Linked DNA regions of Homo sapiens: region 1 is linked to region 2. The links are contacts of gene promoters, found by promoter capture Hi-C in human tissues and cell types (Jung and others, 2019). All regions are on one chromosome and are shown on one strand. The core of a region is centred on a gene start or on the middle of the fragment in contact, and the rest is flanking DNA. Distances in the headings are between cores, read along the strand shown.

Region 1 (6,572 bases), core at 2,116-4,615, 390 kb before region 2:
AGCCAGGTGGGCAGCCCAGTTCAGCAGCCGCTGTTCCTGCGCAGGAAGGGGTGGCCCCGCAGGGAGCAGTGGAGCTCCATGAAGGTGAGGGAGCCCACGGTGATGGCGCAGGGGCCCACGGCGTGGAAGCTGAACCTCTCATAGAAGGGTACCAGCGCGTCCTCGCACATGAGCGCGGCCCGGCGCACGGCCGGCTGGCTGCCCAGGTGGTGCAGGTAGCGCCACAGCAGGATGGGGCCCCTGCCCTGCTGCCGGAAGGCGCGGTGCACGGCCAGCACATGCAGGTGGGCTATGTGGCCCCCAGACCTGTGCAGCGTCAGTGACTCCTGGGAGCGAGCAAGGGATGAGATCCCAGGTCACTTCTGCTGACACGTGCTCCCCCCCAACCACCAACCCAGGCAGGGAGCAGGTGTCCCCTGGGTGCCTGTGGTCAGGGCACCCACCCCAGCAAAGGAGGGCCCCAAATTGGGAGCCATACCCCCAACCCCATGGAGAAAACTTGAAGACCCAGAAGGTCTTGCTCTGGGAGGGGCCTGTGGCCTGTACTCATCTCTCCAGTTCTGGAGGAAGAAATCCCAGCCCCTGGGCTCCCCTCCCCGCCATCTGGCTGACCTCTGTCTTCAGAGGCCTCCCTGGAGCTGGGCGTCGCAGCCCTGTCCTCACCTGCATGAGTCTCTCCTTGTCCCAGAGCGAGCCGATGATGAAGGCCACAAGGCAGCCCTCCTCGAACCAGCCCAGGGACAGCTCTGGACATAGGGTCAGGAAGTGCCGGATCTCATCCAGGTACAGGGGGCAGACGCCCAAGACGGAGATGAAGGCTGTGGCAGGAGGCTCAGGTGGGTGACTGGTAGTCGCTGTGCCTCGCGTCCACTGTCTGCTGCACCCCGAGTGTCCACTCAGATGCCCCGTTCCCCACAGGAAAATGGGGGTTAGGGCTGCTGTTTCCCCCACTTTCTTGAGCGCACACATGGTCTGATACTCTGGGACCCAGCCTCCAAGGACAGGAGACTAAGGGTCTCCTCCCCACAGGATAACTGGACCAGAGTGGAGCATCCCTCTGACCCTGTGCGGGGCCACTCACCTTCACGCTCGATCTCAAAGGCGCTGACAGCGTCCTCCGGGGTGAGGCAGCGAAACTCACTGGCAGGGAGTGTGTGGCGCCGCTGACAGCTCGGGGACTCGGGGATCCCAGGTGGCAGACGTGGGGCCTCAGGTTTCAGGGGGTGGGTGCTCTGCGTGGACATTCTGGCCACTGGTGCCTCCTTGGGGCGCCCCAGCTTTGGAAGTGTCCTCCTAAGCCAAGGAGGGCCTCCCAGCACCTGTTGGAGAACAGCAAGGGACAGGGGTCTCATCCTCATCTCCAGGGAGGCAGGCCCCAGAGTATGTATCTGGCCTCTTTTGTAGCAGGAACTGGGGTGGAGACAGCCCCTAAATCAATGGGCACATTCCCCAGGTACCTGGTCCCCGAGGCTGTTACCAGGCATTGCAAACATTGGCACTGTCTCCCCACCTTTCCCTCTCAGCCAGAAGGATCCCTGGAGGTTTGCCACCTTGCAGACCTGCAGACATTGGTCTCAGGGTGCCGTCTGGGTGCTTCTGAGCCCCAGAGATGGTGGCAGGGATGAGCAGGGCTCAGTGGAGCCTGGGGCACCCCAACCCTGCTGCCCACGGTGGGAGGGGAGGCAGGACTCGTGACCCTCCACTGACCACGTCTAATGCAACTGTGCAGTGGGTGGGCGCCCGGTTCCCCCACACCACCATTCATGTGGTTTATCTTACCTCCCCAGAGGGAGGCTTCTGGTCCTTTGGGTGCAAGATCCTGTGGCAGAGAGCTTTTTAGGTAGCCTCAGCCCTTGGTCCTAGAGAGCCCCTTAATCAAAGTGGGCCCTTAGGGAGCCTCTACTTCTATCCAGATGGCCTCAGACTGGGCCACACACATGCAGGATTTGTGGTGGGGGGTGGGGAGGTTAGAGGGAGCCGGGGGCTGCAGAGGGCCTGGGGAATGGGGAGGAGCAGGCAAGGAGAGTGCATAGGACACCCCCTGCCCCACACATCCAGCTCATCAGACATTCCCCTCTGGGCACTCTTGTCTCCCAAGACACCCTGCAGATTTGCAGTTCTTAGAGGAGGCCATCCCTCCCTCCACCTTCCAAGACACTTAATAAACTCCATGGCTTCCATGTTTCCCTCCATGTCTAGAAGCTCCAAGTAGAGAAGCTCCTGTTCCTAAAGGCTGAGAGCCAGGAGTGGGGGTCCCACCTACCTGGACTGTGGAGAGGATACCCAGTGTTCCCTCCACAAAGCCGCTAGCCCTGGGGGCCTGTCCGCAGGCACGGGAACCAGTAAAATCCGGGACTCCGGGCTGCAAGGCTGTAGTAGCAGATGTTCCCCGGGCAGCCTGTGGTGCTGTTAGAGGTTTGTAATCCCCCCACCCCACCTCTCGAGCTATCCCAGGCAGGATGACGCCAGCAGGGCTCTGGCAGCCTCGGCCCCTGCCTTGCTGAAGGGAAACGTCAGCTCTGGTGCCCTGGGCACAGAAGGGATTACCAGAGGCTGACTGAGGCCCCAGGGTTTGGGGAAGAGAGCGTGGGGCTAAGCCTCAGGGGTCCATCTCTAATCCCTGCTCTGTCACCGACTGGCTGGGCACCAGCGATTCTCCCTCTGTCCCTCGGAGTCTTGGACAAGCCCACCTCTTATGTGGGGGGAGGGGGTGGGAATTCAAGCTACCAATTTGTGCACTTTAAGTACGTTCTACTTCAAGTTTATTTAAATATTTAATTTAATTAAATATTTAAATATTCAGGAGGTTGCCCTACCAAACATCTCAACTACAAAGCTCTCTGCTATTGACCTTGGCTCCACCCATTCCCAGGGCTGCCCAGGCCTTGGCACTTGGTGCTGGCATTCCCTCGGGATGCAGGCCCCTCTCCCTGTTGGCTCTGACTACCCCCTGCCCTCCAGCTCACACCCCATCCTGCACCCCTTAGCTCTTCTCTCGCCAGCACCTGCCTCTCCGCCCCACCCAGCAGTGCAGATCCTGTGTCCATCTCGGGCTCCTGGGGGTCCTGGAGGTTGGATTTCACAGGTGCACTCTTTTGACCCCCTGCAGAGGAAGCTTCTGCTCCTACCCACACAGCTTGGGACGGACCTCTGAGGGTCCTTCCTGTCCTGGCAGCCTGTGAGTGCCACTGCTTACAGCACTTGCTATGTGCCGGGCCCTGGATACGCGTCTCCTTTAATCCACACGGAAGCCCGGCCAAATGAGTATTAACCACGTTATAGAGAAGGAAACCGAGGCACAGACAGGTTCAGTAACCTGCTCAGAGCCATCCAACAAGTGAAGGGGGAGGGGCAAAGCCGGGTCAGCCTCCTGACATGCACTGCCACGGCTGCACTGGTGGGACCCACTCATCTCACAATGAGACTCCTGTTTCCTGTCTTCATGATTCTCCTGCTGGTTTTCAGTGTCCTCACAGGTGCACTCTTTCGACCCCCCCGCAGAGGAAGCTCCTGTTCCTACCCATACGGTTTGGGACACAGCCCCTGACCGTGGAGTGACCCCGTCCCGATGCCCCCGCCCACCCACCACATGCATTCCTCCTGTCTCTGGGTCCCCTTCTCCCAGGGCCCCTCTGCACTCTGAGGCCCACCTGCCTGCTAGAAGGGACCCTCAACAGACCTCTCAGGACCGACCAGAGACCTCCTTGGGCTTGGTTGGTGGGGTGGTCATGTCCAAGACCTCAGCTGGGCATCCCCACCTTCAACCTCCAGGGTCCCCCAAAAGGCCTCTTCTGTCCCTTCATAGACTGTGGCTCCATGGCACCCCCTGGTGGCCAATCCTAATCAGTCACTTGGCGATGCCTGAGAAGAGCCTGCTGTTCAATCGGCCTCTCTCTTTGCTGACTTCCACATGGCCCTGTTCTTTCCGGACAACACCCTAGAGGTCTAGAACCTCAGGGAACAAGATGAGGCAGTAAGCCAGGCACAGTGGCTCACCGCTGTAATCCCAGCACTTTGGGAGACAGAGACGGGAGGATGGCTTGAGCCGGAGAGGTCGAGGCTGTAGTGACTCGCCACTGCACTCCAGCCTGGGCGACAGAGCGAGACCCTGTCTCAAAAAAATACAAATAAAAATAAATTTTTTTTAAAGATGAGGCGGTATGTTAAACATGGTGAAACTGGGAAGTTCAAACCCTTGTGGGACAGGAGAGGAGACAGGGGAGGGCAGGGTGATCGCTGGGACCTTTGTCCTGGTCAACAGGAAGAAAACCACATACCACCACCAATGAGAAGGAAAATAAGGAGGGTGAGGGGCCCAACAGGGTGATGGGTACAGAGAGAAGGAGATCCCTGGGGCTGGGCATAGTGGCTCACACCTGTAATCCCAGCACTTTGGGAGGCCAAGGCAGGAGGATCACTTGAGCCCAGGAGTTTGAGACCAGCCTGGGCAACATAGCAAGACCCCTGTCTCTACAAAAAATTTAAAAATCAGCCAAGCATGGTGGCACACACCTGTAGCCCCAGCTACTTGGGAGGCTGAGGTGGGAAGATCACTTGAGCCTAGGTGGTTCAGGCTGCAGTGATGAGCCACTGCACTCCAGCCTGGGTAACTGAGCAAGATGTTGTCTCAAAAAAAAAAAAAAAAATCCTGACCTCAGGTGGGCTCTAAAAAAGAAGCACCTCCGAGATCATCCTCACGCCAGGGACACCGATTGCACTGTTTATCAGATGCCCAGTCTTGTCCTGCTATTGCAGTTAAGAGTGCTGGCAACGCCTCTGGTGACTGCCTCTCAGGTGGATCTTGGGGATGGGGGGGAGAATGTGTCCTTTGCCCCCCAAGTCGTACCTGTTCAGTCACTCTAGACAGCTGATAAACACCTAACCTGATGGGCAAGGCCGGGCACGGTGGCTCATGCCTGTAATCCCAGCACTTTGGGAGGCTGAGGCGGGTGGATCACCTGAGGTCAAGAGTTCGAGACCAGCCTGGCCAATATGGTGAAACTCCGTCTCTACTAAAAATACAAAAAATCAGCCAGGTGTGGTGGTGGGCGCTTGTAATCCCAGCCACTTGGGAGGCTGAGGCAGGAGAATTGCTTGAACCCAGGAAGCAGAGGTTGCAGTGAGCCAAGATCGTGCCATTGTACTCCAGCCTGGGCAAAAAGAGTGAAACTGCTATCTCAAAAAAAAAAAATATATAGATACAGACAGGGAGAAGCTGGCATCTGTATGTTTCCCAGGGGTGCTGTAACAGATGATACACAAACTGGATGACTGTAAACCACAGAAATGGCTTGACGTCGTGGCTCATGCCTGTAATCCCAGCACTTTGGGAGGCCGAGGCTCTTTGTTCCCAGCCTCTCCCTCCAGCAGCAGCTCCCTTGAAAGTCCTGTATCCACAACTCACCCACCGCGACTCCCTGCCCAGTGTGTACCATGCCACCCTGCCTCACCCATGATGGCTCCCCTCAGGGGTCCCCCTGTCTCTCCACCCAGCCTGGCCTCTTTCGATCTCCCAGACAGATTTACACATTTCAAATGCCAGATGGGGTTCAGTTTTCTCCCAAAAGGCTCTTCGGTCCCATGAAAATCATGGTCTGTGACTGGGCTTCCACTTCAAGACTCCAGAATATTCTTTTTTTTTTTTTTTTTAAGACAGAGTCTTGCTCTGTGGCCCAGGCTGGAGTGCAATGGCACAATCTCGGCTCACTGCAACCTCCGCCTCCCAGGTTCAAGCAATTCTCCTGCCTTAGCCTCCCAAGTAGCTGGGATTACGGGCGCACACCACCATGCCTGGCTAATTTTTTTTATTTTTCCTAGAGATGGGCTTTCGCCATATTGGTCAGGCTGGTCTCAAACTCCTGAACTCAGGTGATCCACCTGCCTCAGCCTCCTAAAGTGTTGGGATTACAGGCGTGAGCCACCGCACCCAGGCAGGACTCCAGAATATTCTATAGCAGTTTGGAGAGGGGTTGTCCAGGGCACACAGAGAACTGCCAGGGACCATGCTACCTAACTCCCCACCTGCCCTGGTAGAGCCTCACCTCTGACCCATCAGAGCCCCCATCCCACTCCTAATCAGATGTGGTGAGGATGATGACGACAGTTATTGAGCGGATAACTGATATCATGACAGTAAAAAAGGTTCTGAGAGGATGTGTATCACCACACGAAAGCTGAGAACCAAGCTTTTGGGATGTCCACTGTTAGCAGGGAAAGGAGTTATTAACAGGAACACAGGTGAAGCCACAAGAAGGGAAGAACCCAGGGGAGAATGTCCAAGAAATGGGGCAGATAGAGCCTGAAATGCCACAAAGAATGGAGAACAGATCTCAGATTCTGCCAACAGGGAGGCTCCGATGACCTTTAAGAATCCTTCCAGAAAAGGCCGGGCACGGTGGCTCACACCTGTAATCCCAGCACTTTAGGAGGCTGAGGTGGGTGGATAGCTCGAGGTCAGGAGTTCAATAGCAGTCTGGCTAACATGGTGAAACCCCGTCTCTACTAAAAATACAAAAATGATCTGGGCGTGGTGGTGGGTGCCTGTAATCCCAGCTACTCGGGAGGCTGAGGCA
Region 2 (7,314 bases), core at 126-2,625:
TTACAGGCGTAAGCCACCGAGCCCGGCCACCTTTTTCCCTTCTCTTACCCATTGAACGTTTTCCCTCCAATTCAATCCAATATACTGAGCATCTATTGTGTCAGGCTCTGTCTTTGGCTCCATGCCTCAGTTTCCTCAGCTGTAACAAGGAAATGGTAACACTTCCTTCTAAGAGGGATCTGCTGAGAAAGGAATGAGATGTATGGGAGAGTTAGTTAAATCTGAATGCATCAGATCCTTATTCTTTTTCTCCTGACCTTATTCCGTATACCTTGAGGAAATTCAAAATAGAGTTCAGGGCCGGGCGCGGTGGTTCACGCCTGTAATCCCAGCACTTTGGGAGGCCGAGGCGGGCGGATCACGAGGTCAGGAGATCGAGACCATCCTGACCAACATGGTGAAACCCCGTCTCCACTAAAAATACAAAAATTAGCGGGACGTGGTGGCAGGCGCCTGTAATCCCAGCTACTCGGGAGGCTGAGGCAGGAGAATGGCTTGAACCCAGGAGGCAGAGGTTGCAGTGAGCCGAGATCACACCATTGCACTCCAGCCTGGGCAACAAGAGCGAAACTCTATCTAAAAAAAAAAAAAAAATCCGTCATTTAATCTTCCTAACAACCACTTAAATTGGTTATCCCCATTTCATAGATGAAGGAACAGATTTACAGGGAGATTAAGTTACGTGCCCAACATGTCCCTGCCGCTAATGACGGAGCGGGGATTGGAATCCCAGGTCTCAGACTCTAGAAGGTGCAAAGCAAAAATTCATATTTTCCCATGTCTCAACACTTCTCCCTCTTTGGACTGACGGCCCCAAAGTGCAGTGGTCCACGGCCCCAAGCGGTCTGAGAAAGTCACCCCGTTAGGACACCGTCTGCTGACTGCGCAGCGCTTCCTCCGGCTTGGCGTTCTTACGGCCAGCCTCAGAGGAAAGGGCAGGCAGAGGCGGGTCCCTTACGGACGGGGTGTCCCGTTCCGGTAGGGAGGACCCCATCTCTTGAGTCCCTGGGGATGCAGACACCCCGAAATCCAGTATCTTTGGTCTCCTGCTTTCTGCTGGGCAGGACGTGAACCAGATCCCCAGTCCAGGATGCAGGACCTGGGGTCCACCTCCGGTTCTCCGCCCTTAGTGGGTGGGAGGTGGGACTGCCCCCTGAGATCTCAGCAGCCACGGTCTCACTGCGGCCTCAAGTCCCCACCTAGCCAGCCACAATTCCGGACCCGGGATGACAGGATCCCTCGCGCAGGCGCGCTCCAGCACATGGCGCCCTGCTGCAGCAAGGGCCGACGGCGGCGGAGTCCGCCGCTATCCCATCAGCCCGGCCAGGCAGGTCCAGCTCTCACCCGCCCAGGTCGTCCCGCCTCCCCTATCCCGTCTTGCTCTGCGGCGCAGGGGCAAGATGGCTGCTGAGAAGCAGGTCCCAGGCGGCGGCGGCGGCGGCGGCAGTGGCGGCGGCGGTGGCAGTGGCGGCGGCGGTAGCGGCGGTGGACGTGGTGCCGGAGGGGAAGAAAATAAAGAAAACGAACGCCCTTCGGCCGGATCGAAGGCAAACAAAGAATTTGGGGATAGCCTGAGTTTGGAGAGTATCCTAGAGTAATCGGGCCTAACTCGCAATGATTACGTGTCGAACTGGAGGGCTGGGGGCGGGAGAGGCGGCGGGTCCCGACAAGTCCTGGCAGGAGAGGCCGAGGGTTGCAGTTTCTCTCGCCCTTACCTTTTGGTGCTCAGAATTCCGGGGGGGGTCTGTCTCTCGACTAGTCTTTCCTCGTGTCCCCCTCGCCGTCCTGGCTAGGTCCGTTTCTTCCAGTGGCACTGGGATATCAGGCAGGTTTCCCCTGGTGCCCCGCAGTTGTCCAGTTGGAGGGCTTGTGACCAAGTGACACCTTGAGCACCTTGCTTTGGCACCTTGAGCCACTGAACTGGGGAGAGGAAACTGCAGTCTTGACATTTGGCTTAATACTCTTGTCTGACAGTCGTCATAGACTGAGTAGTAAAACCTACAGCTCGATACTTTGAAAGTGGAGGTAAAGATTGACTCAGGAAAAGCTTGTTGCCCATTTTGATTGTAAGTTACCGTAGTTAATATCGATTGTGTCATTTTTTTCTGATCGGTCTGTAGGCATTTTATCTTGCTGACAGTCATTCATATAAGCTGGAGGAATCGGTTTCTAGTTTCCATCAGTGTGTATCTCAACCAAGTGCTTGTGGTACTAGTTTGTGACCTTTTGAAATGAATAACAAATGGAGAAAACGTAGGCGAGTTTCTGAAATAACACATTCAACTTGACATCTTAATGTGCTTAAAGTTCTCAGGCGCTTGGAGTTAAATATTTTGAATTACTGGTAATAGTTCCAAGTAGACGCTAGCGAGCCCTGATTTTACTGAGACCTTTATATCTCTTTGTCCCGTTTTAGTAATTTAAAGAGTCCTTTTAGCGTTCACTATTTTAAAATATGTCTCTAGAGAAGTGTTGAGGAAACATTAAAACTATACCTATATAGATGAAGGTCATTGGACTTTCTAAAGATTAGTACATAATCTTAAATATTTTAAGATTATTAAAAGGAGAATCTGGCCATTCTTCTTTTGAAAGAAAAACCTTAATACTTTTATGCAAACTGTAGCCTAGCTTGGTTGACATGTGCTAATCATAGACTCTCTAAGCATCACAGCTGTTAAGGAAAGTTAGATTTGGCAGGTGTTGGAGATTATGCAAATGGAGGCTTAGTACATGTCATTTATAACCTGAATCTGAATGAATAAAATGTGGGGTCTAGGTGTTAATTGGTGTGAAGCACCCCAATTATAGTCAGCATTTAGAATCCATCAGCTTAATTTAAACTGGGTTTTGGCAGTTTCCAGTGGCCAGTAGTGCCCTCCTTTTTCAGTTTGCAAGTAGTAACAGTTCAGGCAATCAGTTTTCCTGTAGGTTAGCCCTGTCCTGTGACAAGATAGATATTGAAAATGGTTACAAAAGATCTCACCAGTGTACTAAATATTTCACAAATTTGTGTGTGTGTGTGTGTGTGTGTGTGTGTGCATGTGCATGTGTGACTGAATCTCACTCTCACCTAGGCTGGAGTGCAGTGGCGCTGTCTTGGCTCATTGCAACCTCTGCCTTCCAAGTTCAAGCGATTCTCCTGCCTCAGCCTCCCGAGTAGCTGGGATTACAGGTGCTAGCCATTGCGCCCGGCTAATTTTTTGTGTTTTTAGTAGAGACGGGGTTTCACCATGCTGGCCAGGCTGGTCTTGAACTCCTGACCTCAGGTGATACACCCGCCTCGGCCTCCCACAGTGCTGGGATTACAGGCATGAGCCACCGTACCTGGCTATATTTCACAAATGTTTAATGTGTTGTGGTTTGACACAGATATAGACTGATGGTACAGGTTTTGATTTGTTTGGATTCTTGCTATGGTAAGATTTTCCTTAATCTCGACTCTAGTTCTTCAGATTATTAAGGAATCCCAGCAGCAGCATGGTTTACGGCATGGAGATTTTCAGAGGTACAGGTTAGTATCACATACAAGATGTTTGGAAATCATTGTGGGACTTGCTTTGCTTTTGTTAATATCCTGTTTACTCTGCTATATCAGCAAATATGCTAGAAAGTCTAGAGCATTGTTTTTTTTGTTTGTTTGTTTGCTTTGTTTTTTTTTTTTTTTTTGAGATGGAGTCTCGCTCTGTCGCCAGGCTGGAGTGCAGTGGCGCAATGTTGGCTCACTGCAACCTCCACCTCCTGGGTTCCAGCGATTCTCCTGCCTCAGCCTCCTGAGTAGCTGTTTTTTTTGTTTGTTTGTTTGTTTGTTTTTTGAGATGGAGTCTCACTCTGTCACCCAGGCTGGAGTGTAGTGGCGCAATCCTGGCTCACTGCAGCCCATGCCTCCCGGGTTCAGGTGATTCTCCTGCTTCTGCCTCCAGAGTACCTGGGATTATAGGCATGTGCCACCATGCCTGGCTAATTTTTGTATTTTTAGTAGAGATGGGGTTTCGCCATGTTGGCCAGGCTGGTCTCAAACTCCTGACCTCAGGTGATCCACCCACCTCAGCTTCCCAAAGTGTTGGAATTACAGGCGTGAGCCACCGTGTCTGGCCTATTTCTTTTTTTTTTTTTCTTTTAAATAATCTATACCCTGGTAGCTTTGATTGAGATGCTGAAGTAGTATTTATTTTATTTATTTTTGATACGGAGTCTCACTCTGTTGCCCAGGCTGGAGTATAGTGGCGCGATCTCGGCTCACTGCAACCTCCGCCTCCCGGGTTCAAGTGATTCTTCTGCCTCAGCCTCCTGAGTGGCTGGGACTGAAGGCACATGCCACCATGCCCGGCTAATTTTTAGTAGAGACAAGATTTCACCATGTTGGCCAGGCTGGTCTTGAACTCCTGACCTCAGGTGATCCACCTGCCTCAGCCTCCCAAAGTACTGGGATTACGGGTGTGAGCCAATGTGCCTGGCCTATTTATTTATTTTTATTTCATTTTATTTATTTACTTATTTTTTTGAGACAGAGTCTTTGTCTGTCACCCAGTCTGGAATGCAGTGGCACGATCTCGGTGTACTGCAACCTCCGCCTTCCGGGTTCAAGCAGTTCTCCTGCCTCAGCCTCCCGAGTACCTGGGACTACAGGCATGCACCACCATGCCTGGCTAATTTTTGTATTTTTAGTAGAGATGGGGTTTCACCATGTTGCCCAGGCTGGTCTCGAACTCCTGACCTCAAGTGATCTGCCTGCCTCAGCCTCCCAAAGTGCTAGGATTACAGGCGTGAACCACCACGCCCGGCCCCTGAAGTAGTATTGAAATATCATTTTGTATTGTAAATTATGTGCTGTATTACTTTGACTTAAAGGTTGGTGCAATTTTATATATATATATATTTATTTATTTATATATATATTTTAAACTAATTTAGTCAAAATGTATGTATTGAACATCTGCATATTAGACACTGTGGTAAGGCATTGTGGAAAATTTAAAAATGAAATCCTAGCTGGAATGGTGGCACATGCCATAGTGCCAGTTACTTGGGAGGATGAGGCCCGAGAATTGCTTAAGCCCCGGAGTTCGAGCCCAGCCTGGGCAACAGCAACATAGTGAGACTCTGTCTCAAAAAAATAATTCTCCCTGCACTAAAGGGATTTATATTAGTGGACAACTATGTGAGAACATAATTATAATGTCACACACTGTAATAGAAGGAAGAATAAAGAGCTACATGAGCATAGAGGAGGAGGCTTGGCATAGAGGTGACATTTGTAGTGCTTCTTGGCGATAACCTAATTGGCTTCCTCACTTTTCTTCAGACCTGCCTGCAGTTCTTTCTCCATATGTTTGGTGTCATCTTAGTCTTCCTCAGGATGCCCCTTTCCCTGCTTTCTTTACATTTATTAGAATCCTCCTCATTCTTCTTCTTCTTCTTTTTTTTTTTTTTTTTCAGACACAGTCTTGCTCTGTTGCCTAGGCTGGAGTGCAATGGCGTGTTCTCGGCTCACTGCAACCTCCACCTCCCGGGTTTAAGCAGTTCTCTGCCTCAGCCTCCCGAGTAGCTAGAATTATAGGCGCCCGCCCGCCATGCCTGGCTAATTTTTTTTTTTTTCGAGACGGAGTTTTACTGTTGTTGCCCAGGCTGAAGTGCAATGGCGCAATCTTGGCTCAACGCAACCCCCACCTCCTGAGTTTAAGCGAATGTCCTGCCTCATCCTCCCGAGTAGGCTGGGATTACAGGCATGTGCCACCACAACTGGCTAATTTTGTATTTTTAGTAGAGACGGGGTTTCTGCATGTTGGGCAGGCTGGTCTCGAACTCTTGACATCAAGTGATCCGCCCACCTCGGCCTCCCAAAGTGCTGGGATTACAGGTGTGAGCCACTGCACCCAGCCCCTCATTCTTTCTAGGCCCCGCCATCAGTCCACTGCAGCTGAAGGTGCTAACAAGAGAATGATTACCCATGTCCTTTCAACTTGACATTTGCCTTGTTTTCTTGGTTGCCATTTTCTCTGCATGATTCTACTCAATTTTAATGTGGGTTCCTTGAACATGGGCACTGTGTCCTCCATCTCTTTGTGTTTCCTATAATACCAATCATATTGCCCTCCATGTTTTAGTTGTTCAATAAATGTTTAGGGCCGGGTATGGTGGCTCATGCCTGTAATCCCAGCACTTTGGAAGGCTGGGGTGGGCGGATTGCTGGAGTCCAAGGATTTCGAGACCAGCCTGGGTGACATAGTGAAACCCTGTCTCTACAAAAAGTACAAAAATTAGCCATGTGTGGTGGTACACCTCTGTTGGTCACATCTACCCAGGAGGCTGAGGTGGGAGGATTGACTGAGCCTGGCTGCAGTGAGCCAAGATCACACCACTGCACTCCAGCCTGGGTGACAGAGCCAGACTCTGTCTCAAAGAAAAGAAAAAAATGTTTGGAAGCTGATATGTGATAATTCTAGTAACCATAAGTATAATATCCCAAACCATTGACCCTTGACCTTGCCTTATTGCAGAATTTATTATTCAAAATACTCTCAGCTTGGCTGAGTGAGTTTTGTTTGTGGTTTCTTACAGGGGCTACTGTTCCCGTAGACAAAGACGTCTTCGAAAAACACTCAACTTCAAGATGGGTAACAGACACAAATTCACAGGGAAGAAAGTGACTGAAGAGCTTCTGACCGATAATAGGTATTGACTGCTCCATGCTAGTTGCAAATTACTTCTTGCTAATACATTTATTGAACAATGACGTGGTAGACTTCATGCCAAACCTTTTAATTATCTCTGTGGGCTGGGCATTGTTTACTATTCCTGTGTTCTAAGGCAAGGAAACTGAGGCTCAAAGAGATACATTAGGTTGTTCAAGAACTGTGTTGGGGCCAGGTGCAGTGGTTCACGCCTATAATCCCAGCACGTTGGGAGGCCAAGGTGGGTGGATCACCTGAGGTCAGGAGTTCAAGACCAGCCTGGCCAACATGGCAAAACCCCTACTTTACTAAAAATATAAAAATTACCCGGGCATGGTGGCAGGCGCCTGTAATCCCAGCTACTCAGGAGGCTGAGGCACAAGAATTACTTGAACCCGGGAGGCAGAGGTTGCAGTGAGCCAAGATCACACCATTGCACTTCAGCCTGGGCAACAAGAGTGACACTCCATCTCAAAAAAAAAAAAAGGAGGGGGTGAGATTCACTGTCTCAGCTTTGGAGCCCCCCTTCCTCTGTCTCTGTACAGGGAAGCTTCTTCTCCCTTCTTGCCTATTAAACTCTGCTTTTTAAAACCAAAAAAAAAAAAAAAAAACCTGTTGGGATGGCAAATGTTGAAGTCAG

The links. Contacts are between HindIII fragments. The study calls those that stand out against the background at their distance.
Region 1: a fragment that was not itself captured here is called in contact with the fragment with the promoter of SRP68 in region 2 in 1 of the 25 tissues and cell types used here (spleen).

Annotation. Positions count from the first base shown.
Region 1 is chr17:76,463,419-76,469,990 of GRCh38, reverse strand. AANAT (aralkylamine N-acetyltransferase) reads right to left here and starts at 2,388. Exons shown (of 4, transcript NM_001088.3): 1 at 2,264-2,388; 2 at 1,082-1,319; 3 at 664-818; 4 at 1-326. The coding sequence starts at 1,244. The coding sequence ends at 21. The HindIII fragment of the contact is 7,095 bases long and covers 1-6,572 here.
Region 2 is chr17:76,066,578-76,073,891 of GRCh38, reverse strand. SRP68 (signal recognition particle 68) reads left to right here and starts at 1,375. Exons shown (of 16, transcript NM_014230.4): 1 at 1,375-1,584; 2 at 3,448-3,514; 3 at 6,562-6,675. The coding sequence starts at 1,401. It also overlaps a transcript of GALR2 not described here. RefSeq lists enhancers at 433-1,260, 1,213-1,262, 1,261-2,088. The HindIII fragment of the contact is 13,843 bases long and covers 1-4,636 here.